Linked DNA regions of Homo sapiens: all the other regions are linked to region 7. Evidence: promoter capture Hi-C in 16 types of primary human blood cells and fetal thymus (Javierre and others, 2016). All regions are on one chromosome and are shown on one strand. The core of a region is centred on a gene start or on the middle of the fragment in contact, and the rest is flanking DNA. Distances in the headings are between cores, read along the strand shown. Region 1 overlaps TP53BP2 (tumor protein p53 binding protein 2). Region 2 overlaps CAPN2 (calpain 2). Region 3 overlaps CAPN2 (calpain 2). Region 4 overlaps CAPN2 (calpain 2). Region 5 holds the start of LOC105373281 (a long non-coding RNA gene). Region 6 overlaps TP53BP2 (tumor protein p53 binding protein 2). Region 7 holds the start of CNIH4 (cornichon family member 4).

Region 1 (3,077 bases), core at 186-2,685, 540 kb after region 7:
TACAGTCATGTGTCAATAATGGTGATACGTGCCGAGAAATTTGTCATTAGGTGATTTTGTTGTGTGAACATCATAGAGCGTACTTACACAAATCTAGATGGTATAGCCTACTACACACCTAGGCTATATGGTATACAGCCTTTTGCTCCTAGGCTACAAACCTGTACAGCATGTTACTGTATTGAATACTGTAGGCAGTTGTAACACAGTGGTACATATTTGTGTATCTAAACATAGGAAAAGGTACAGTAAAAATATGGCCTTAAAATCTTATGGGACCACTGTCAACATGCAGTGCATGACCGTAGGTGTGGCTGGCACATGAGTGTTAGTAGGGAGCTTTGAGAGCCTTTAAGTGTCTGTTTCAGCTTATGCAGGCCTATGCCTGATCTTTTGCCATCACAGGGCCATCGGGATGTTAGCCTAGAGCTTGTGAGAAGTCCATATCTTTCTGGGGCAGTCCAGCGTGGACAGCAAGCTACTTTACTTCCTTTGAGTTCTCTCTTTGCTCCTGGAACCTGGAGATTTTACTTGTTTTGAGTACAGCATGTGTGTGTGTATTTTGTAGGGGTGGGTGGAAGGGCTACTCAGAATTTCTTTTGGAGGTGTTTCTCTCTAACTGTGGTGTATCCTTTTTGGGGGAGGTCTTAGAATATGTGTGGTTTATAAAAGGGGATTATCTATGTCAACTCAGTATGTTATGTTACTGGAAGTAGAACCAGAACTGCATTTTGTTGCAGCCAAGCAGATTAAGTTCAGGGTTGGTTCACCAAATTGGCTGGTGAATGCTTGCCTGCTCTGTTCTCTGCCCATGTTTATTTAAGGTGTTAAGATAGTGTCCTTGATTACTGATAAATGTGTTGAGTTTTCTTAGGGTATTTCAACATTCTTATATTTAAAAATCATGTTGACATTACTGGAGTTTCATTGATTTTAAGCAATTGCCTCCTCAAACAGTGTGTCTCGTTTTTATATCCAGATCCCTTGAGATTGGAAGATTTTTTTAGGACAGCTTGAGATATATTGTTTCTCCTGAAGCTTCTATTTTTACTAGGTATTTAGGTGTGCCCTTCTTTTTGTTTCCAGAAAAATTCTGACACTGGTATTCTCACTGGAAGAGGGGCAAATATAGATACATTTTACAGCAGTAAATAGACTTTTATTTGGAAATGGATGGGTCTGATTTTTTTAAATATTGTTTGTAAAATTATAATTTAAAAATAGCCTGTATTGAAAACTACAATTAAAAAAAAAAGACTAGGCTATTTAGAAAGTTGCTTTTTAATATTTTCTTTGTATATTCGGAGAATCATGAATATTAGTGTTAGAAGGGACTATGTGATCTAATATAGATTTTACAGAAACTTTTGGAACCACAGAAGTTAAATGGTGCACCTGTGGCCAGCGTGGAGCCCACTGGATTTAGACTGCTGAGCTCCTGACAGCTGGCTGAGATGCATTGCCTTTTGTAGTATTCCACCCTGGCTTGACTCTGTGTGTGTGGAAAATCTGTGTGACTTCAGTTTCTAAGACGTGTTTTAATGAAAAAAATTTACCTGAGATACTAAGCATTTGTTGTATCCATAATGTATAATTTGCATGAAGGATAGATGGTGAATGATATATTTATCTTTCTTTTACCTGAAAATAATGTGGTTTCTACTCATTTGCTTTAGAACGTCCAGTTGCGGATAATGAGCGAATGTTTGATGTTCTTCAACGATTTGGAAGTCAGAGGAACGAAGTTCGCTTCTTCCTTCGTCATGAACGCCCCCCTGGCAGGGACATTGGTAGGTAGTGCTCTGTGAATCGTGACAGATATTTAAGCTTTTATTTTGTGCTGGGAGTAGTAGGTGGCACATGATGAGAAGCCAGGTAATTTGAGAGGTGAAGGAGAGGTTAGGAAGTGGAAACAGTGGAGATAGGCTGTCGAGGGGAGAAGTTTGACTATAGTTGTTTAATGCAGGTGGGAAGGAGTCATTAGAGCAGGGGGTTGAAACTATAAGAAAGGAAATACTTGTTAGGCAGGGTCCCTGATTAGGTCCTTCCACAGCCCTGAGGCAGAAAGTCCTCTTAGACAAGAGGAAGGATCCCTCTTCCATAATAACAGGACAGAAATAAAACTGTGGCAGATGTGGCTAAATTTGTGCATTTTGTGGGAGTAAGTTGAGGGATTTCTCATCTAAAAACATTTGTTTTCTCTGAGGTAGGAGTGATGATGGAGGTGGGTGGGAAGCTGGAGCTGTTTTGGAGATTAGGAGAGAGGGCTTACTAGGGAAGCCAGACTGCTGGGAACCATTGAGGCCAGTTGAGATTAGAGACCATGAGACCATACATGATTTTTCTCCAGTGGTGGTCTACAGCCCAGGTGGGTTGTAAGAAGAGAAGAAAACAAAGGTGTCTAGACAAATTTTTCTAGGCAATTGTCTAGAAAACCCAAGGTTTCTAGACAAATTCAATGGGAGTTCAGTGGGACAGGGGAGAAGAGGGTATTGGCAAGGTGATACCTTAGCTGGGTGGGGAAGAAGTGAAGACAGGAGGGGCTGTGGGGAAAGAGTAGACAGAGTTAAGAGGCTGTGAGTCTCAGTTAGATGAAAGAACAGGTGTGAGAGGAAATGAGTGAGACGCCTGAGATTGAAAGGAAATAGTGGTCAAAAAACAGAAGGTTTGAATTGAAAATTTCGGAGGTAGAGGGCTTCTAGTGTTGTGGTCCCAGGTGGGGCCCTGAAATGAGGCTGAATTAGAGTGGAGACGAGAAAGCTAGAACTGAGAGGCTAGCATTTGGGCGGTAATGTCATCCAGAATGAAGGCAGGACTTGGAGGTGGAGAGAACAAGGGAGTCAGTTGGTCACATCGTTAGTGACCAGGGATTGTGACCAGAGTTTATAGATGACTGTAGGGGGAGGGTGGAGAGAGAGTGTGGGTGGGAAGCAGCAGTAGACACTGGGGACACAGCCATCCCTGTGACCCAGCAGTCTTGTAGGATGTGGGAGAACGAGCAGGGTTATTGGACATTACAAAAGCTCAGTTTTGGCTGAGCGCGGTGGCTCATGCCTGTAATCCCAGCACTTTGGGAG
Region 2 (2,993 bases), core at 1-2,500, 630 kb after region 7:
CCTTCCCCCTGGGACACCACCTCCTCTGTCATACCCCTCTCCAAAACTTAGGTGGCCGCCAATGTCAAGTGCTAAAGCTGGGACCCAGTCGGGTATTCAAGATGTGCCACAATGTGTCTCCACCTCAGCGACGCGACCTCATTTGACAGTACTCCCCTCCAGCTGTACTGTCCCCAAAGAGAACGTGCAATCTGCATGGATTAAACCTTTACTATGTACCAGCCTCTGGAGCTCTGAGCTTTATATGTCTATTATTTCATTTCATCTTTACAGTCCTCTGAGGTAGACACAATTTTTTTTTTTTTGAGATGAAGTCTCGCTCTATTGCCCAGGATGGAGTGCAGTGGTGCGATCATGGCTCACTGCAACCTCCACCTCTCAGGTTCAAGCGATTCTCCTGCCTCAGCCTCCTGAGTAGCTGGGACTACAAGTGCATGCCACCACGCCCGGCTAATTGTTTGTATTTCATATTGTAGTTTTGTAGAGATGGGTTTTCACCGTGTTAGCCAGGATGGTCTTGATAGTAGGCACTATTATTATCTTCATTTCACGGATGAGGAAACTGAGGTGTGAAGAGGATAGTGATCCACTCAAAATGACAGAGCCAGTATGTGGCAGAATAAGAGGCCAGTCCCTAACTGCCAGACACCAAGTCCTCATTCGCTACCCTGATATTTACAGATGTTTATTGATGTAGGTTTAGCTGTTTGTTTTGAGACAAGGTCTCACTCCATCACCCAGGCTAGAATGTCATGGTGCAATCACGACTCACTGCAGCCTTGACCTCCTGGGCTCAAAGTGATCCTCCCACCTCAGCCTCCCAAGTAGCTGGAACTACAGGTGCACACCACCATGCCCAGCTAATTAAAAAAATTTTTTTTTGTGGAAATGGGTTCTCATTATGTTGCTTGGCTGGTCTTGAACTCCTGGGCTGAAGGGACCCTCCCACCTCAGCCTCCCAAAGTGTTGGGATTACAGGCATGGGCCACCATGCCCTGCCTGTTTATTGACGTCTGTGCATTGTTTGGCTCTGATGTGAATACTATCCCGCTTTGGAGAGTAAAGGCTGAGAGGCTGGATTCCAGAGCGCAACAGTCTGCTGCTGTGCAGTGCAGCAGCCACAAGGAACATGTGGCTATTTACATTTAAATTAAATAAAATTACAAATTCAGTTTCTCAGTTGCATGAGTCATATTTCAAGTGCTCCACAGCCACACAGGGCTAGTGCTGCTGTTTGGAGCAGTGCAGATATACACGGTTTCCATCATCACTAGAAGCTCTATGGGACAGGGGTGGTCTAGAAGTGGCCTCACTGCACACCTGCTGGCCAGGCCACCTCCTCCTGGGGCTCAATCATCCAGACAGTGTTGCTAGCCAGGACCCCAACAGACCTCATGGAACCCACGGTCCTTCATTTCTCAAATCCCCAGATGAGTGTCCCTTGGCTGGTCTTCTTGGGGACTGGTGCTGAACAAGGTGGAGATATAATTCCTCACAAACACCAGTCCAGCTAAAGCCAGATGTGTGAGGGTGCAGGGGGCTGTCGAGGAAGGTAACATTCTAAAGTCACAGAATGTCAGAAGTAGTGGGGCATCAGGAAAATCTGTTCCAACCTTCTAATCTCAGAGACAAGATAAGACAACTATGGCCGTATAGGGGCGTGGTCTGGCTCCTGGCCACAGGAAGCTGGTGGAAAATCTAAAGAGGCACCCAAACAGGCAAAGAGTCACCCCTGGATCCAGAGGCCCATGGGGAGCAGGCTGGAGCCCTGGAATCCCACTTTGCACGCCCTGTGGCTTTGCAGGAAAGTATATGGGAAATGGGGGATTCTTGAAGGGGGTCCCACTGCTCCTATTCCTGGAGAGGGGGCAGGGAGAGCTAAGGAGAGATTTGTTCTTCAGGCATCTGATGTAGCTGGAGACCGTGGGTACCATGGCCAAAGCTGAGGCAGCCAGGGTGGGACAGGGGCCTCCAAGCAACACAGCAGTGTTAGCAGTTCACCTGGACCTGTTGATGAGCTGTCTTAGATGCACGAAGGCAAGAGATGTCTCATCTCGTCTCTAAGATCTTAGATCTTAAGTGCAGAGGGAAGGCAGCTGGGAGTGTGGACGGCAGCCACAAGGGAGAAAAGTGCAAGAGCATTTACAACCAGAAGAGAAGCCGAGGGGACATGATGGCCCATGGACAATGTAGCCATGGACAGTGCCCTGGGAGGCTGGTAAGGGGGGTGCTGGGACTGGTGGTGAAGAGATCATTTTTAAGAAAAAGAATGGATTTACTTTCTCCATCAAACCAGCCAACATCTATTTGCTAGTCTTTAAACATTTTAACTACATGGGTACTTATTTATTTACTTTTTGAGATAAGTTTTCCCTCTGTTGCCCAGGCTGGAGTGCAGTGGCTCCAGAACCAGGCTGGAGTGCACGGCTCACAGCAGCTTCTACCTCCTGGGCTCAAGTGATCCTCCTGCTTCAGCCTCCCGAGTAGCTGGGACGACAGGCATGTGCCACCAAGCCCAGGTAATTTTTTTGTAGAGACAGAGTTTTGCTATGTTGCCCAAGCTGGTCCCAAACTCGGGTTCAAGCGATCCTCTTGCCCCAGCCTCCCAAAGTGCTGGGATTACAGGTGTGAGCCACTGCATACTTATTAAAAAGGCACCACAAATTCCAATAGACAGGCATCTTACAAAATCTCTGATCAATATTCCCCAAAACTGTCAAGGTCATCAAAATTAAGGAAAGACTTGAGAGACTGTCACAGCCCAGAGGAGCCGAAGGAGACTTGGCAACTAAATGAAACGTGGGGTCCTGGATGGGATCCCGGAATAGAGAAAGAACCTTAGGGGAAAACTAAGAGAATCTGCATAAAGCATGGACTTTAATAATACTGCATCAATGCTGATTCATTATAACACGTGTACCACACTGATGTAACATGTTAATAATAGGGGAAACTGGGTATGAGGTATCTGGAACTTCCTGTATTATCATCTC
Region 3 (2,983 bases), core at 132-2,631, 610 kb after region 7:
CCGAGAATACCAGAGAAAAGGCGGAATGCAACCCTCTCGCGGAACGAGCACAGGCATTCCCGTGTGAATAGCGCATCCACGGATTTCTGCAGGCTGGGAAGGGCGGGAAAGGGCGCACGGCCGAGAGAGGGCTGGAGGGGGTCCTCGATGGCGCAGGGAAAGGGCGCACGGCCGAGAGAGGGCCGGAGGGGGTCCTCGATGGCGCAGGGCTGATACCCAGACAGCCTTGAGTGGCCCAGGGACACTGAGCACACCCTCGCCCCACCACCAGCCCATGCTCCGTGGTCTGGCCCAGCCCAGCTGTAGGGTTTATACTAGGACGGTTGTTTATTCCGGTCTGAGTCAGAATTTGCTTCTGTTTTAAGAACGCCTCACAGCCTCTCCTTTCCCCTATCTATTCTGATGAAGGTTGAGCCTGGGAAGAAGGGCTGGAGCAGAAAGGGTCTTCTGCCTCAACGTGTTCTGCTGATAAACTTTGAGAATTCCTGCCTAGGGAGTCTGACCTAGATTTTGGCTCCAAAAGCCAGGGCTTCTTATCTCTGTCCCCCGCAGAGACCAGAACCTGGATGGGACAGGGCTCAGAGGTTGGGCACAGCCTTTGCTCCAAGGCTCCTGGGCACAGTGCCCACCTCCCATCCCCTGGTGAGCGTTGCCAGCAAGGCTATTATGAGGAAATCTTTCCTCCTCTTCCTTCCGAAGTCTCCCACGGGCCTATTAGCTCTGCAAGAGTGCAGGGGAAGGCTGCACAGCACTGCAGATGGAGGGGAAGGTGGCAGGGGCAGCAGGTGGCAGGGGCTCCCAGGGAACCTGTGGTCAGAGGGGTGGGGGTGATTCAGAGCAGGCTAAGAGTGGGAAGTGGACTGAAGACAGAAGGGCTGGAGGCACCATCACCCCATCCATTACACCCCAGACAGCTTGACTTTTGCCTAGCAACCCTTGGCTTCCAGGTGATGAGCAATAATGGTAGACACTGGGGTGCTCAGAAACCAATACCTCTAAGAGATGGCACTTTGAAATGCTAAACTGAAGAAGCCTCAAGATCTCTCTGACCTCCCCTTTCCTTCTGTCTCTCGATCCACTCTCCCCCAAAGCACAGGAGGAAGCTATTCTCTGAAGTTCCCTCACCTGCCTAAAGTCTGGACCTGCCAAAGATGAAAACAATGACGTCTGGTCCTTTCCATGAGTTATTATGAACTGAACTCATATTGCAGGAAGAAAGACAAGTCTGTCAACATGGCTAGACAGACTTGTCACAAACCACTGTCTGCTCTGCAGGCCCAACAGACTTTATCCCAGACCATTTATGTTCTTTAAGCCCAATGAATTCCCCTAAAAATCATTTACGACATCCCTAAAATCATCCGCACCTCCCCATCTCCCTTCCCCTAAGAGGAAGGGAATATAACCCTCTGTATCCCAATGCGTGGTAGGGAAATCTCTTGTGATTCTCCCCTGTCCACATTCATACATTTGTATGCCATTTCTTGTATTAGTCTTCCTTTTGCCAGTTGATTTTCAGCGGACCTTCAGAGGGTGGAGGGAGGTTTTCCTTTGGCCCCTACGTGGACGAGGGCTGCATTACGTTGTACACAGGAGCAGTGGGTTCCCTTGGGCACTGTGGGAGCCTCCCTTCAGCAAGAGCAGATGGGGTGAGGCTAGGGAAGGCAGCCTGGACTTACGTCGATGGAGCAGCCAAGGAGAGAGCCTTTTTGCAGAGCTTTCTGGATGATCTTGAACAGGTTGGGAGGGGGCTTCTTCAACTCATACCACTCAGCAATGCCTCCGGTGAAGTCTTCGAAGCCCTCAGTGGTGGCACCCCCTGATAGCGCTTCATAGCATCCGTTGATCCTACAAGAGGGGATTAGACGCTGCCGCTACCCTTGACACTACTGATGCTATAATCTCTCAAACAGCCACCCCCTAGTACCGTCTAGATTTGATGCTCCAGGGACCCCCTGCTCACATTCTCCTTGGCCTTGTTCCCAGCTCGGGGTGCTCAGGAAGGCAAGGTATAATGTCCACAGTTACCATTTCCCTGGTATTTTGTGTTTTAAAGAAAATCTCAGGCCGGGCGCGGTAGCTCATGCCTGTAATCCCAGCACTCTGGGAGGCCGAGGTGGGCGGATCACTTGAGGTCAGGAGTTCAAGACCAGCCTGGCCAACATGGCAAAACACCATCTCTACTAAAAATACAAAAAAATTAGCTGGGCATGGTGGTGCATGCCTGTAGTCCCAGCTACTTGGGAGGCTGAGGCAAAAGAATTGCTGAAACTCAGAACGTGGAAATTGCAGTGAGCTGAGATCATGCCGCTCACTCCAGCCTGGGTGACAGAATGAGGCTCCGTATTAAAAAAAAAAAAAAAAAAAAAGATTCTCGTAGAACCTTAGAGTCGGAAGGACCTTAGTGATTTTCTGGATGAACCTCCTGTATTGATTCCTTCTACATCCTGACAAGAAAGGGGAGGTCTACTAATGGGTCGTTTGGCATTGATAGCTTAAAAAAGGACAACCATTCAATAATGGAAGCAGTTTCTCTGAGAAACAGGCACGGTGTTGGCAAGGGCTTAGTGCTCCTGACTGCTGATGCTGGAGTCCGGTGGCTTCCCTGACCCCAGTATTGAGCAGTGGGACTTAGAAGCATCCGTCAGGCTCCAGGTTCTCACAGCTGACTCCTCCTTCCTGGATTGGGACTGTAAGAAACAGAAATCCACTTGCTGCTCTAAAGTGGGGTCACTTTAATGGAAGGAGCCGGGCGGCACAGCCAACATGGGGCCATTGTGGAGAGGGGCTGGTGTGGGGCTTCTTACTGAGAGTGGGCAGCCCTGAGCACTGGACAAACTCAACTGTGGGCAACCTGGGTGGGAAGCAGCTGTGCGGAGATGGGGAAGCCATTGCTAATCAGTGACATCATCTATTCTGGGCAAGTTTCCTACCTCTGCAATGAATAGTTCTGCCCATTGGCAAAAATTCTGCTTTTTTAAGT
Region 4 (2,960 bases), core at 230-2,729, 590 kb after region 7:
GCTATGAAACTAATGTGGTGATTTAAATGAGGTATAATTGCTTTTGTCCCTTGGCTGCTCTTCTGTGAGACTGGTTTGATTTTGCAAAGCCAGTACCTTCTGCTGTTTCTTTTGTTTTTGAACTGTCCACCTTCACCCTGCCTGTGTCCTTTGCTGACACATAAGTGTTTTCTTGCCTGTTTCTGTTCTCATGGTCACAGTTGCTTCATGTTGTTAACCATGCTGCTGCTGTTTGATTTTTTGTTTAGCTCTCAATCGTCTTGAAGATCAGATTCTTCCTGGATATATGTGAGCAGAAGCTTTCCTGGTAAACTCATAGTAGTTCTCTCTCCTTCCAGAGTAAAATAATTTTTATTGAGCCTATGGCCACCTAGCATCAAGACTGCATGTCCCAGCTTCCTTGCAGTCAACAGAGGCCTTGTGATCAGAGTCTGGCTGGTGGGATGTGTGACCGGAAATGGCCTGTGTGCCCTTAAAGGCAAGGGGCCCTTCTTCTGTCAACCTGTTGGTGGCATGTGTTTGTGGTGGCAGGCTGTCCCAGGTCCCTTGGATGAGGGTGACCCTTGAAGGTCCGGTGGGCATCATGGATGGGGGGAGGCTGGGGGAAGCGTGATCAGATAGTGACATGGTAGGATAGTAGGAGGCACCGTCCTAGCCGTGGACTGCTGGAGCTGGGATTGCTATACGACAGAAAGACATACCTCGTATAAACCAATGTTGTGTGGGGTCTCTGCAGCAGCATTATATTCCAGCAAATAGAATGAACAGCCTCATGCTGACACATTTGTTCCCAAAGCCCAGCAGTCTCCTGCTTTGCTGGTCTACCACTCGCTTGTGTCCTTTTATTGATATCCAATTCTGCTAGGGTCTTACCCTAAGGGCTGAGCTGAGACATTTGATTTCTGCCTAACCAACCCTGCACCAGAAAGGAAGCACCTGGAGGAGGCTGTTGAGACCTGGCTTTGCCTGCTTACTGTGCCAGGCGGCTCCAAAGGAAACTTGGATTCAAGAAGGCACAGAGGGCAGAGCATCCTACTGCATTTAATTTTACCAATTAGTCTTTGAAAGGGGAATGAAAAGGAGGTGTCTGTATTAAACCAGCACCTACTTTATTTTATAGCTTTACCAAATCTTGTGTTATATGGTATAAGATGAGTGTTCACATATTCTACAGACAGATTAAACTAGGAACGAAAATGCAGTTATAAAGGGTTACCTGCTTCTTCTAATGCCTTCCGCATTTCATAGGAATTCATGGTACCAGACCTGTCAACGTCGATTTCTCGGTAAATTTTCTGGAACACATAAGTTAGCTGTAAGAACTATGACCCAAAGCAAAGCTGGCAAGTTACCTCCCTAGTATGTGCTGAGTGGGGATGAAGTTTTTCCAGCTCTGTGCCTCTAGTTTGGCCGTGGAAGAATCACTTATGTTTCTGCCTTAAATAACTAATAGTATTTTGCTTCTGTCTGTGAGCTGGTTTGTAAATATGCCCATCAAATCAGCCAGCCAACGCCCATAGGTCCATGTTCTTGTCTTATATAATTTTTGTACTTTAGCTGTCAAAAACCCTTTTCAGGAAACCCTTGATGGTGGCCTTTAGATGATCCCAATAATCAGGAGGAAGGGAATAGGCCATTTCACCTGCGAAGTCCTGGTTGGTTTTTTGTTTGCATTTCCTCAGCCCCATCTTTACTCACTCTGAGCTTCATTATGGGTAAAATCCCAATCCCCTTGGAAATGTTTCTCCACTCTGTGCAGGAGTTGCTGCATCTTAAAGCATATGAACAGAATGTTTCCCAACACAGATCCACCCGCATCTCTGGGATCTTACTTGGTATTTTTGAATCTTCGTCCAGAGAATGTAGAACTCCTTCAGCCCCAGCTTGCCACTCCCGTCCGACTGCCTTCAGTCAAGGAAAGCCCTTGAGTGTGGGTCCATTTGCACATAGTGTCACCTAGTTTGTCTTCTCAACTGGATCTTTTGAATATCATAGCATATACACAAGGAGGGTTTGCAGAAGGATCCTTTTCCTGCTTTTCCCACTGGCTAAACCTCCATTTAAAGGATTGGAGGAAGGGCGAGAAAGACCTGCTGGCTCCCTGCCGAATCTGGTTGCTGTTTTGATCTAGGGGTGCTGTGGAGGCCCCAGATACTACTAAAAATGAGGTATTGGATGACATGCAGAGGGCTTTGGATGGCTTCTAGTGGCTAGGCCCTTGCTGTTTTTTTTAAAGTATGTGGAGTATATCTAAGAGGCCTTTGGTGAAGGGAGCTAGCAGGTGTACACCATGAATCCACTAGATAAAACTTCACAGAAGTGGCCAGGCATGGTGGCTCACACCTCTAATCCCAGCACTTTGGGAGGCCAAGGTGGGCAGATCACCTGTGGTCAGGAATTCGACACCAGCCTGGCCAACACGGTGAAACCCTGTCTCTACTAAAAATAGAAAAATCAGCTGGGCATGGTGGCGCGCACCTGTAGTCCTAGCTACTAGGGAGGCTGGAGGGGGGAGAATCACCTGAACCTGGGAGGCGGAGGTTCGAGTGAGCTGAGATCATGCCACTGCCCTCCAGCCTGGGTGACACAGTGAGACCCCGTCTCAAAAAACCAACCAACCAACTAAACAAACAAACAGAAAAAACTTCACAGAAGCTTAGGCTGCCCCTTACCACCACTTCTCACTAAGCATTGGAAACAAGGGGGAAATGGATGACTAGTTTGCCTTGGGGAAAGGTGGGTGGCCTGGGAAGGAGCTAGAGCAAAAGGGAAGTAGGATCCTCATGAAAGTAGCCCTTATCTAAATCAAGAAGACGATCTTATCCAACTTACAAGGGATGTGAAGGACCTCTTCAAGGAGAACTACAAACCACTGCTCAAGGAAATAAAAGAGGATACAAACAAATGGAAGAACATTCCATGCTCATGGGTAGGAAGAATCAATATTGTGAAAATGGCCA
Region 5 (2,900 bases), core at 266-2,765, 650 kb after region 7:
GCACCCTGCCGAAATGGAATCTTTAAAATGTGTTTATTTTATACTAATATGAGAGCCATGATGTTACCTTTTCTTAAAGCAAGTATTTTTGTCACTATTATTCCTCTGCCCCCATCTATTCTTGTCTCTGACACCCATTGCTTACCCCCTTTGCTTGACAAAACTTTGGTCAGACTTCTCTCTTTCCTACAGATCCCTGAATGCTGCTTGCCCCCAAGCCTGAACAAGCACAAACAAAGTGGAGTGTCCCTGCCAAGTCACTTCCCTGCCCAGCTTCTCCTGGGAATTGACTGAACACAGCAAGACCCTTTTCCTGTCAGCTCCCACTGGTCATTTCCCCTCACTTGTCCAGCTTCCCCTCCCAAGAGTCTGCTTATCTCCACTTGCTCCTCCTTTACCCTAGAAAAGAAGAATCTTTTTCTGTTTGATTTTGAGCTGCTTGCAGATTCTCTGAATTGGAATTGTCTTTCTCTCTTTTTTTTTCTTTTCTCTTCTCTTTTCTTTCTTTTCCTTCCTTCCTTCTCTTTTTCTCTATTTTTTCTTTCTTTCTCCCTCCCTTCTTCCCTTCCTCTCCTTCTCTCCTTCTCTCTTTCTCTCTCTCTCTCTCTTTCGCTCTTTCTTTCTTGTTTCACTCTTGTTGCCCAGGCTGGAGTGCAGTGGTGCAATCTCCACTCACTGCAACCTTCGCCTCCCGGGTGCAAGTGATTCTCCTGCCTCAGCCTCCTGAGTAGCTGGGATTACAGGTACCAGCCGCCATGTGCAGCTAATTTTTTTGTATTTTTAGTAGAGACGGGGTTTCCTCATGTTGGCCAGGCTGGTCTTGAACTCCTGACCTCAGGTGATCCACCTGCTTTGGCCTCCCAAAGTGCTAGGATTACAGGTGTGAGCCACTGCGCCTGGCCTGCAATAGTCTTTCTTTCTATTGAAGTGTCCCTTTATAAAAGTCTGGATTTTTTTTTTTTTTTAAACAGAGTTTCACTCTTGTTGCCCGGGCTGGAGTGCAATGGCGCGATCTTGGCTCATTGCAACCTCCGCCTCCCGGTTCAAGTGATTCTCCTGCCTCAGTCTCCCATGGTTTTGTTTTTATTTGACATCCTCCATCTCTGGTTTGCAAGTCTGGGCATGCTGCCTGATGGGCAGGTACCACCGTCCACCACCAGGCTTTGCTTTCTTTACTCTTGAATAAGGCGGGGACACAGGTTCCATTGTGTAATGGTTGGCACTCTGGACTCTGAGTCCAGAGATGGGGATACAGGCATTCATTTCTAGCTCATGGGTTTCTGGTGCAAGGGTTTCATGAAGCCATCACAATTGAAAACAGAGGAAAGCGACAGCCCTGTCCTGGAAGCTGTTCATTTGTTCCACTGTCTGATTTCCATTGGCCCCACCCCGACTTCTTCTGGGCTCGAGGCTCTTGGGAGAAAGCTTGTCCTTCTGCCCAGTGGGGCAGAGCGCAGGCTTCTCCTCCCACTGATCTCCTCAAGGACAGCTCATCTCTGGAGGAAGTGACTCCTCCCAGGCAGGTGGAGGTCATTTCCCTCCTAAGTCATTTTAGCAACAAATGGGCAGATCAGACCTATCATTCCAGTCAACTCAGAAGCTTTGCACAGCCTGGGAGCAGAAGAGCCTCCTGGCTCACCTGAAGTTCCTCTTCCCCAGCTAGGCAACACCCTCTTTGGTGCAGCCCTGGCCACTCCCCTTGCCAGCCTTCTAGGGATCGCTGCGCACATAGAGCTCTGCTTACAAAGGGCTTTAGGCTGTCCTATGCCACCCAAATTTAATTGCAAACACATACAATGACTACTTTCCCCAACCATTTGGACAAAGTCTAGTTTTTAAACCTGAGTTAATGTTGCTTTTTCTACTTCCCAAAGCCTCTCACACTATGCTATCTCACTGACCCAGCAAAGTCTTCTCTTTCTCTGACCACACAATCCTTTTCACGGGAACACAAGGACATAGACAAACACTTCATGGTGGAAAACCTTCCTGGAGTGAGTCAGCCAGCCCTGAGGATGGTGGTGAGTCAGAAACAGCTGGGATTATCCAGAACTGCCTGGGTCTGGGCCACTGACCTTGTGAGTAAATGAGAGAGGGAGTGAGAGAGAGAGATAGAAAGAGAGAGAGAGAGAAGAAGAGAGAGAGAGAGAGAAAATAAGAGAATAAGAATGTGTGTGTCTCAGAGGGCCATGGCAATGGAATCTTTTTCAGTAGTATTTTTCTTTAGATTATTTTCTCCCTGGCCCTGGATGTTTGAGATGCATCAGAGGCACAATCTGCAGGTTCTGGATTTTTTTTTTTTTTTTTTTGAGGTGGAGTCTCACTCTGTCACCCAGGCTGGAGTGCAGTGGCGTGATCTCGGCTCACTGCAACCTCCGCCTCCCGGGTTCAAGCAATTCTCCTGCCTCAGCCTCTTGAGTAGCTGGGATTACAGGGGCTCACTGCCATGCCCAGCTAATTTTTGTATTTTTAATAGAGACGGGGTTTCGCCATGTTGTCCAGGCTGGTCTTGAACTCCTGACCTCAGGTGATCCACCCATCTCGGCCTCCCAAAGCGCTGAGATTACAGATGTGAGCCACCGTGCCTAGCCAGGTTCTGGAGATACTAACCAAAGCTTCCTTTTTAATTTTGCACCTCCACGTGTCAGTCTCAGTTTTTATTTGACATATTTGTGCACTTTACACATATTTGTGCACTTAATCTTCACAGCCAGTCAAGGGAGATCTTATCTCCTCATTTAATGGATGAGTAAACAGAGGCCCAGCAGAGCAGCTGACATGTTGTGTTGTAGAGCCAGCCTGGCTGCCAACACCTAGACCATGGTCCCTTGGGGTCTGTCCATACCCAGTGTAGGAGGGCAGAGGGAACGGCAGGCCCAGGCAGAGGAAAAGAACCTGTT
Region 6 (2,975 bases), core at 411-2,910, 570 kb after region 7:
ACTGCGCCTGGTCTAAATTTTTTTTTCAAGTCTGTATACCCAAGGAGAATAAAGGGGAGAGGAAAGAGTAAAGAAACTAAATCTTATGTACTTTAGAGCCTGATTAACATTTTCACACTCAACTTCTGAGTTTGGACAGTGGTACTGGCTCTTGTACCTTTACCATTACTCTAGGGTCATTTATAATCTATTATAAAACATTTGAGATGCTGGAGTTCTCTTTAATGGTATTAATAAATTCCTGCTGACCAGTTACCTATAGTTGAAATATGTGTATTTTACAGTCACTTTTCTGGTCTCAATTGATTTGACAAATTTTTTCAATTAAAATTTGTTTTAACTTGGGATTTAAAAAATATAAAAGTAGTTCATCTATGCAACTTAATTCCTTCAAAATTGATGACGATAAATAGATATTTAAAGGCCAGTGTTTTGAGTGAAGGTGTATAACTTAAATAACTTAAGGACTGTTAGGGCTTCTACTCTGAAAGAATTAGGCTGGATGCTCCAGGACATAGAACTAAATCCATGTTAATATTGTTTTTCTTAAATGTTTATACACATTTCATTTCTGTTTATTCACGTCCTTGATTCTTCTCACCCTTTGCTAAGCTCCCAGCCCCATTGTGGTCCATGACTCTCTGAAATTTTCATTTGTGGCTGTAATTCTTTGATGGGTTCAATCATCTGTGTTGAACTGGTTTTTAAAAAACTGTTTAAGAGGTTTTCAGAAGAAAACTTGGTAGATGAGAGACTCAAGAACTTTCTTTCCAGATATCTTATCAGCAGGTGTCATTCAGTTTAGGAAAACAGTTCTAGCCCTCGTATCTTGCTTCACAGGACTCCATTACATTGTGCTGCCTCATGTAACAACGTCCAAGTGTGTAAGTTTTTGGTGGAGTCAGGAGCCGCTGTGTTTGCCATGACCTACAGTGACATGCAGACTGCTGCAGATAAGTGCGAGGAAATGGAGGAAGGCTACACTCAGTGCTCCCAATTTCTTTATGGTATGTGACAAGTAGAACTAAATGTATTGATTACTGCATTCATTTATTCTGTATCTCCAGGGTATAATTCAATAAGTATTTTTGTTTGGAAAAAATCTTGTGTTATCCATAGTCTTGGGCCTTGAAAATACAACAGCCTTGGTCACAGATAATACAGCTTCTGTTTGTATGCTTAGAAACAGCTATTGTCAGGGACTTCTTCAATTACAAAAGACAGTGTTGCAGCATCTGACCTAGTGGTGTTAATGACTTTGACCATCAAAAGACCCTCTATTAAGGCTTTAGTACTTATAGATTGATGGTGTATCCTTGCAAATAAGTAAACAGACCCCCCTCTCCTAACAACATGATCAAGAGAAGTGAAGGATCAGTTTAAGAACCCAAATGGTCCAAGTTTTCCTAAAAATCAAACTTGTCATAAAGTGAAATAAAGGCAACATATATTTTGGAGCTGTCTTTTATTTTTTTCTCTTTTGTTTTCTTGATTTTGAGTTTATGATTCTGATTGCTAACATCAGATCTGTACCTAGAGGAAAATGGACTTGAAGTTTTAGATAGATATATGTTGATTGGCATTTGTATATACAAGGAAAATTTTTTTTGTTTACAAGGCTTAGAAGTTGAGGTAAATTTTCCTCTTTAGTTGGGCTTGAGAGGAATTAAAGAAGGAGGGAAGACAGAGACAAATGAGGAGGTCCCAGAACTCCATACTGCTCAAGTTTTCAGTAACTCCTTTCCCAGTTGATTGGAAGACCCCTAAGGGTAAAACAGACGCCTCTGCCCTCTCTGCTGAACTTTTCCCTCTGTCTCTAGGCCTTTTTTCAGGCCCTAGGTATGAAGAGAGAGGGGTCAGAGAACCACAAACCTGGAGTTCCCTTCTTCATCTCTCTCAGCTGGTAGTTTTTAATTGCTGATATTTGTGATTATTTTATTTTTTTAGAGGCGAGGTCTCACTCTGTCACCCAGGCTGGAGTGCAGTGGCATGGTCATTGCCCACTGTAGCCCCAAACTCCCAGGCTCAGGTGACCCTTCTGCCTCAGTCTTTCAAATAGCTGGGACCACAGGCACCTGCCACCACACCTGGCTAATTTTTAATTATTATCTATTTATTTATTTATTTATTTATTTTTGAGGTAGGGTCTTGCTCTGTCACTCAGGTTGGAGTGCAGTGGCACAATCACAGCTCACTGCAGCCTTGACTGCCAGGGCTCAGGTGATCCTTCCACCTCAGCCTCCAGAGTAACTGGGACTACAGGCATGTACTACCACACCCAGCTAGTTTTTGTATTTTTAGTAGAGATGGAATTTTGCCATGTTGTCCAGGCTGGTTCTCAAACTCGTGAGCTTAGGCAATCTGCCTGTCTTGGCCTCCCAAAGTGCTGGCATTACAGGTGTGAGCCACCATGCCTGACCTTTTAAATTTCGTTTGGAGTTGGGGCCTCAGTCTGTTGCCCAGGCTAGTCTCAAACTCCTGGCCTCAGAGAATCCTCTTGTCTCAGCCTCCCAGAGCTGAGATTACAGGTGTGAGCCACCATGCCCAGCCTTTGTTTATGTTTTAAACTCTGGACCATAGAATATTTTGATATAGTAACATATTTAAAAATTTATATATATAAATATAAATTTTATATATTTATGTATGTATTTTGTTTTTGAGACAATCTTGCTCTGTTACTTAGGTTGGAATGCAGTGGTGTGATCATAGCTCACTACAACCCTGAACTCCTAGGCTCAAGCAATCCTCCCACCTTGGCCTTCCAAAGTGCTGAAGTTATGGGCGTTAATATAATGTGTTAACCGGTATAATGTGTTGGCCGGGTGTGGTGGCTCATGCCTGTAATCCCAACACTTTGGGAGGCCGAGGCAGGTGGATCTCTTGAGGTCAGAAGTTCGAGACCAGCCTGGCCAACATGGTGAAACTCCATCTGTACTAAAAATACAAAAATTAGCCAGCTGTGGTGGCGGGCA
Region 7 (2,899 bases), core at 171-2,670:
CAATATTTACTGAACATTAGCTATGGGGCAGGCACTGTGCTAGGGTGCTCAGCACCATTCTCATTGTGCATATCTAGGAAATAAACATTTCCTATTTTAAAGATCAGAAAACTGAGGCTTAGGGAAATAATGTGCAAGCAAAGAGCTAGCTGACCAGGAAATCTGATTCCAAATTTTGTCCCTTTCCACTACAACAGGATGCCAGTCCACAATGAAAAATGAAGCTGCACTGAACATATACTCTGTACGACTATCCTAAAGCCCGCATGCTCTAGCAAACAAATGGTTTAATCCGATCAGAAACAGGTACATGTGATTTCCAAGAAAGGAAGCTGAAATGCGGAGTTCCTCATACGTTTTTTCTTATATTTAATTACTTAAACCTGGATGGTGCAATACAACATTGGGCAACAACTAAGCCTAGATGCTTTGTCAAGAGATGGGAAGAGTTGTAGCCGACATGGCTACTGCAGTGCTAAATTCAACCACCATTTATTGCTCTGGAAAACAGTTTGAATACTGCAACTTAAGTTTTAACATGGATCGATAGAAAAATTTAAAAGCTGAGAAACGATTGGGAACTACAGCAGATGTAGTTATTGAATTTACAGATCTGCAACCACCGGGGACAACCAAAATAATCACTTTGTAGACAGTTGTTAAAACAACTCCTTTCCAACACTCACTACAAAACGGCACAGTGAAGGAAGCAACTTCGCTCCTTTGGCGAATGAGTCAACTCCTGGATGTGAAAGGTCCCTGCAAGTACTAACACCCGCCAGAACAAAGGGGCGGGTGCCGGGGGTGTTGCGTGGGGAACAGGAGGAGGCAAATGGCCCGCACTTATCCCGGCACCCGACTGTCGCAAGCGACCGCCCTTGGGACCCCCAATATCCGACGAAGAGCACGGCGCAGGGCCTCTCCCAGAAAAACAGCGACGCTTCTCTCCCGAGGGCGGCCGTGGCTCAGGCAGGGCTGGTCCGGGCGCCGCGGGGACGAGCGGAGAGCAGGCGGGCAGGCCGAGACGGGGCGCGCCCGGAGAGGCCCACTCGGACCCGAGTGAGGGGCGGCCGGCAACCCAGGCAGGGCAAGTGCGTGCAGGGCAGCAGGGCCCGTCGGGTAGGGCAGCCAGCCTCTCCTACCCGCTCCGGGGCCCGCGCCACCGCCCCGGCCAGGCCAGCTCCCAGGGAGCCCACGCCCGCCGCCGGGCGCCTCCCTAGTCCCACACACCTGCCCGGGTGCCCAACTGGCCCACCCTCAGCCGTGTCCCCCGGCAAGGCGTTCGCCTGCCTCAGGCAAGGATACGAAGTAGACCGAGAGGAAGATGAGCGCGCAACAATCGAGGAGAGAGAAGACGAACACCACCGCCTCCATCCTCCTCCTCCGTCGCCGCCGCTCCTTCCGTCAAACCCGCTCGGATGCCCCGACCCACCCCTGATAGGCCCTTGCCGGGGCTGGCTGAGGCGTGTGGTCCTCGAATCCTGGTGTGGCATGCCGGGAGTTGTAGTCCATATTTTAAAAAACTCTACGGCCCTAATTCTGACGCATGCTGGGAATTGTAGTTCATTAGTACAAGTCCATATCAAAGAGGTGGGCAGGGCCTCTTTCATAAATCCGATTATTTCCAGAAATGGAATTAATCAACAAGTATTTACTCAACGCTTTTCTTTTAAAGAGCTGGGGTCTTGCTCTGTCGTCCAGGCTGGAGTGCAGTGGCGTGATAGAGCTCACTATGACCTCGAATTCCTGGGCTCAAGCAATCCTTCCACCTCAGCCTCCCGACATGCCCAGCTAATTTTATTTTATTATTTCTCATTTTATTTTATTTTTTGAGACAGGGTCTCACTCTGTCGCCCAGGCTGGAGTGCAGTGGCATGGTCACAGCTCACTGCAGCCTCTACCTCCTGGCCTCAGGTGATCCTCCCACCTCCGCCTCCTGAGTACCTGGGATTACAGGAATGTACCACCACGCCTGGCTAATTTTTTGTATTTTTAATAGAGATGGGGTTTTTGCCATGTTGCCCAGGCTGGTCTCGAATTCCTCGGCTCAAGCGATCTGCCTGCCTCAGTCTCCCACAGTGCTGGAATTACAGGCCTGAGCCACTGCACCAGTCTCTACTGAACGCTTTTAATCCGGATATCCAGTAGGATGTATTTCCCATGTGTGAAATTTTCTTTAGAGTTGGCTCTAGAACCATTGCATTCCCTGACTTAGGATTTGTAAGGGGTTTTCATCTCAAAGCACAAATCTAACTTAATGCTCCTGGCTTGACTTTTGCGATTTGCCCTTCCCTTCCTGATTTCAATTTCTCCAGAGATTTCACAGTCCTTTGTTTATCCTCTCCTACAGCAATGTTTCTCTCCTCTCTAGATTTTAAGATCTTTAAGAAGTGAATACGATGTCTTACTCATCCATTCATTCATTTAACAAATACAGTTGTATTTGCAGGGGCTACTTTCCAAGACCCCCAAGTGGATGCCTGACACGATGGATAGTACCAAACCTTATGTGTACTATGTTTTTTCCTATATATACATACCTATGATAAAGCTTAATTTATAGATCAGGCACAGTAGGAGATTAACAAGTAATAATAAGATAGAACAATTATACTGTAATAAAAGTTATGTAAATGTGGTCTTTCTGTCTCAAAATATCTTATTGTACTGACCCTTCTTTTTGAGATGATGTATGATGATAAAATGCCTATGTGATAAGATGAAGAGACAGATGCAGCCTCTCCAGTGATTTTTATATTTTTCAGTCCAAATCTATTCTTACATTCATGTAACTATCCATTACTTGCAGTAAGTGGCTTGGTATCACTCGTTTTAGGGAATCCCTCACTGAAGTCTTTGTATAGGCTCAATACTTTCTGGCTCAACACGTTGCCATCAA

What was found. The method cuts DNA at HindIII sites, captures the fragments that hold promoters and counts their contacts. A CHiCAGO score of 5 or more calls a contact.
Region 1: a contact is called between a fragment that was not itself captured here and the fragment with the promoter of CNIH4 in region 7, in 11 of 17 cell types (total B cells, naive B cells, monocytes and 8 more). The highest score is 13.8, in total B cells.
Region 2: a fragment that was not itself captured here is called in contact with the fragment with the promoter of CNIH4 in region 7 in 6 of 17 cell types (M2 macrophages, monocytes, total B cells and 3 more); the score reaches 8.8 in M2 macrophages.
Region 3: a fragment that was not itself captured here is called in contact with the fragment with the promoter of CNIH4 in region 7 in 4 of 17 cell types (monocytes, naive CD8 T cells, total B cells and 1 more); the score reaches 6.7 in monocytes.
Region 4: a fragment that was not itself captured here is called in contact with the fragment with the promoter of CNIH4 in region 7 in 3 of 17 cell types (erythroblasts, naive B cells and monocytes); the score reaches 7.2 in erythroblasts.
Region 5: a contact is called between a fragment that was not itself captured here and the fragment with the promoter of CNIH4 in region 7, in 8 of 17 cell types (total B cells, naive B cells, erythroblasts and 5 more). The highest score is 7.5, in total B cells.
Region 6: a contact is called between a fragment that was not itself captured here and the fragment with the promoter of CNIH4 in region 7, in 3 of 17 cell types (erythroblasts, naive B cells and total B cells). The highest score is 5.9, in erythroblasts.

The regions. Positions count from the first base shown.
Region 1 is chr1:223,812,953-223,816,029 of GRCh38, reverse strand. TP53BP2 (tumor protein p53 binding protein 2) reads left to right here. Exons shown (of 18, transcript NM_001031685.3): 3 at 1,677-1,790. Among named protein-coding and RNA genes, the nearest start is that of TP53BP2, 31 kb to the left of the region's middle. The HindIII fragment of the contact is 789 bases long and covers 1,041-1,829 here.
Region 2 is chr1:223,722,695-223,725,687 of GRCh38, reverse strand. The region is part of intron 2 of CAPN2 (calpain 2); the gene reads right to left. Among named protein-coding and RNA genes, the nearest start is that of CAPN2, 12 kb to the right of the region's middle. The HindIII fragment of the contact is 6,664 bases long and covers 1-2,993 here.
Region 3 is chr1:223,745,862-223,748,844 of GRCh38, reverse strand. It overlaps CAPN2 (calpain 2), which reads right to left. Exons shown (of 21, transcript NM_001748.5): 5 at 1,680-1,848. Among named protein-coding and RNA genes, the nearest start is that of CAPN2, 35 kb to the right of the region's middle. RefSeq lists a silencer at 444-738. The HindIII fragment of the contact is 6,197 bases long and covers 1-2,983 here.
Region 4 is chr1:223,768,782-223,771,741 of GRCh38, reverse strand. CAPN2 (calpain 2) reads right to left here. Exons shown (of 21, transcript NM_001748.5): 17 at 1,833-1,901; 18 at 1,217-1,295. Among named protein-coding and RNA genes, the nearest start is that of CAPN2, 58 kb to the right of the region's middle. The HindIII fragment of the contact is 2,356 bases long and covers 302-2,657 here.
Region 5 is chr1:223,706,489-223,709,388 of GRCh38, reverse strand. It overlaps LOC105373281 (a long non-coding RNA gene), which reads left to right and starts at 1,739. Exons shown (of 3, transcript XR_949164.2): 1 at 1,739-2,021. It also overlaps a transcript of CAPN2 not described here. RefSeq lists enhancers at 1,031-1,530, 1,531-2,730. The HindIII fragment of the contact is 175 bases long and covers 1,428-1,602 here.
Region 6 is chr1:223,787,040-223,790,014 of GRCh38, reverse strand. TP53BP2 (tumor protein p53 binding protein 2) reads left to right here. Exons shown (of 18, transcript NM_001031685.3): 16 at 841-1,007. Among named protein-coding and RNA genes, the nearest start is that of TP53BP2, 57 kb to the left of the region's middle. The HindIII fragment of the contact is 7,487 bases long and covers 1-2,975 here.
Region 7 is chr1:224,355,400-224,358,298 of GRCh38, reverse strand. It overlaps CNIH4 (cornichon family member 4), which reads right to left and starts at 1,420. Exons shown (of 5, transcript NM_014184.4): 1 at 1,306-1,420. The coding sequence starts at 1,374. RefSeq lists enhancers at 570-1,070, 1,628-1,767 and a silencer at 978-1,347. The HindIII fragment of the contact is 2,727 bases long and covers 1-2,553 here.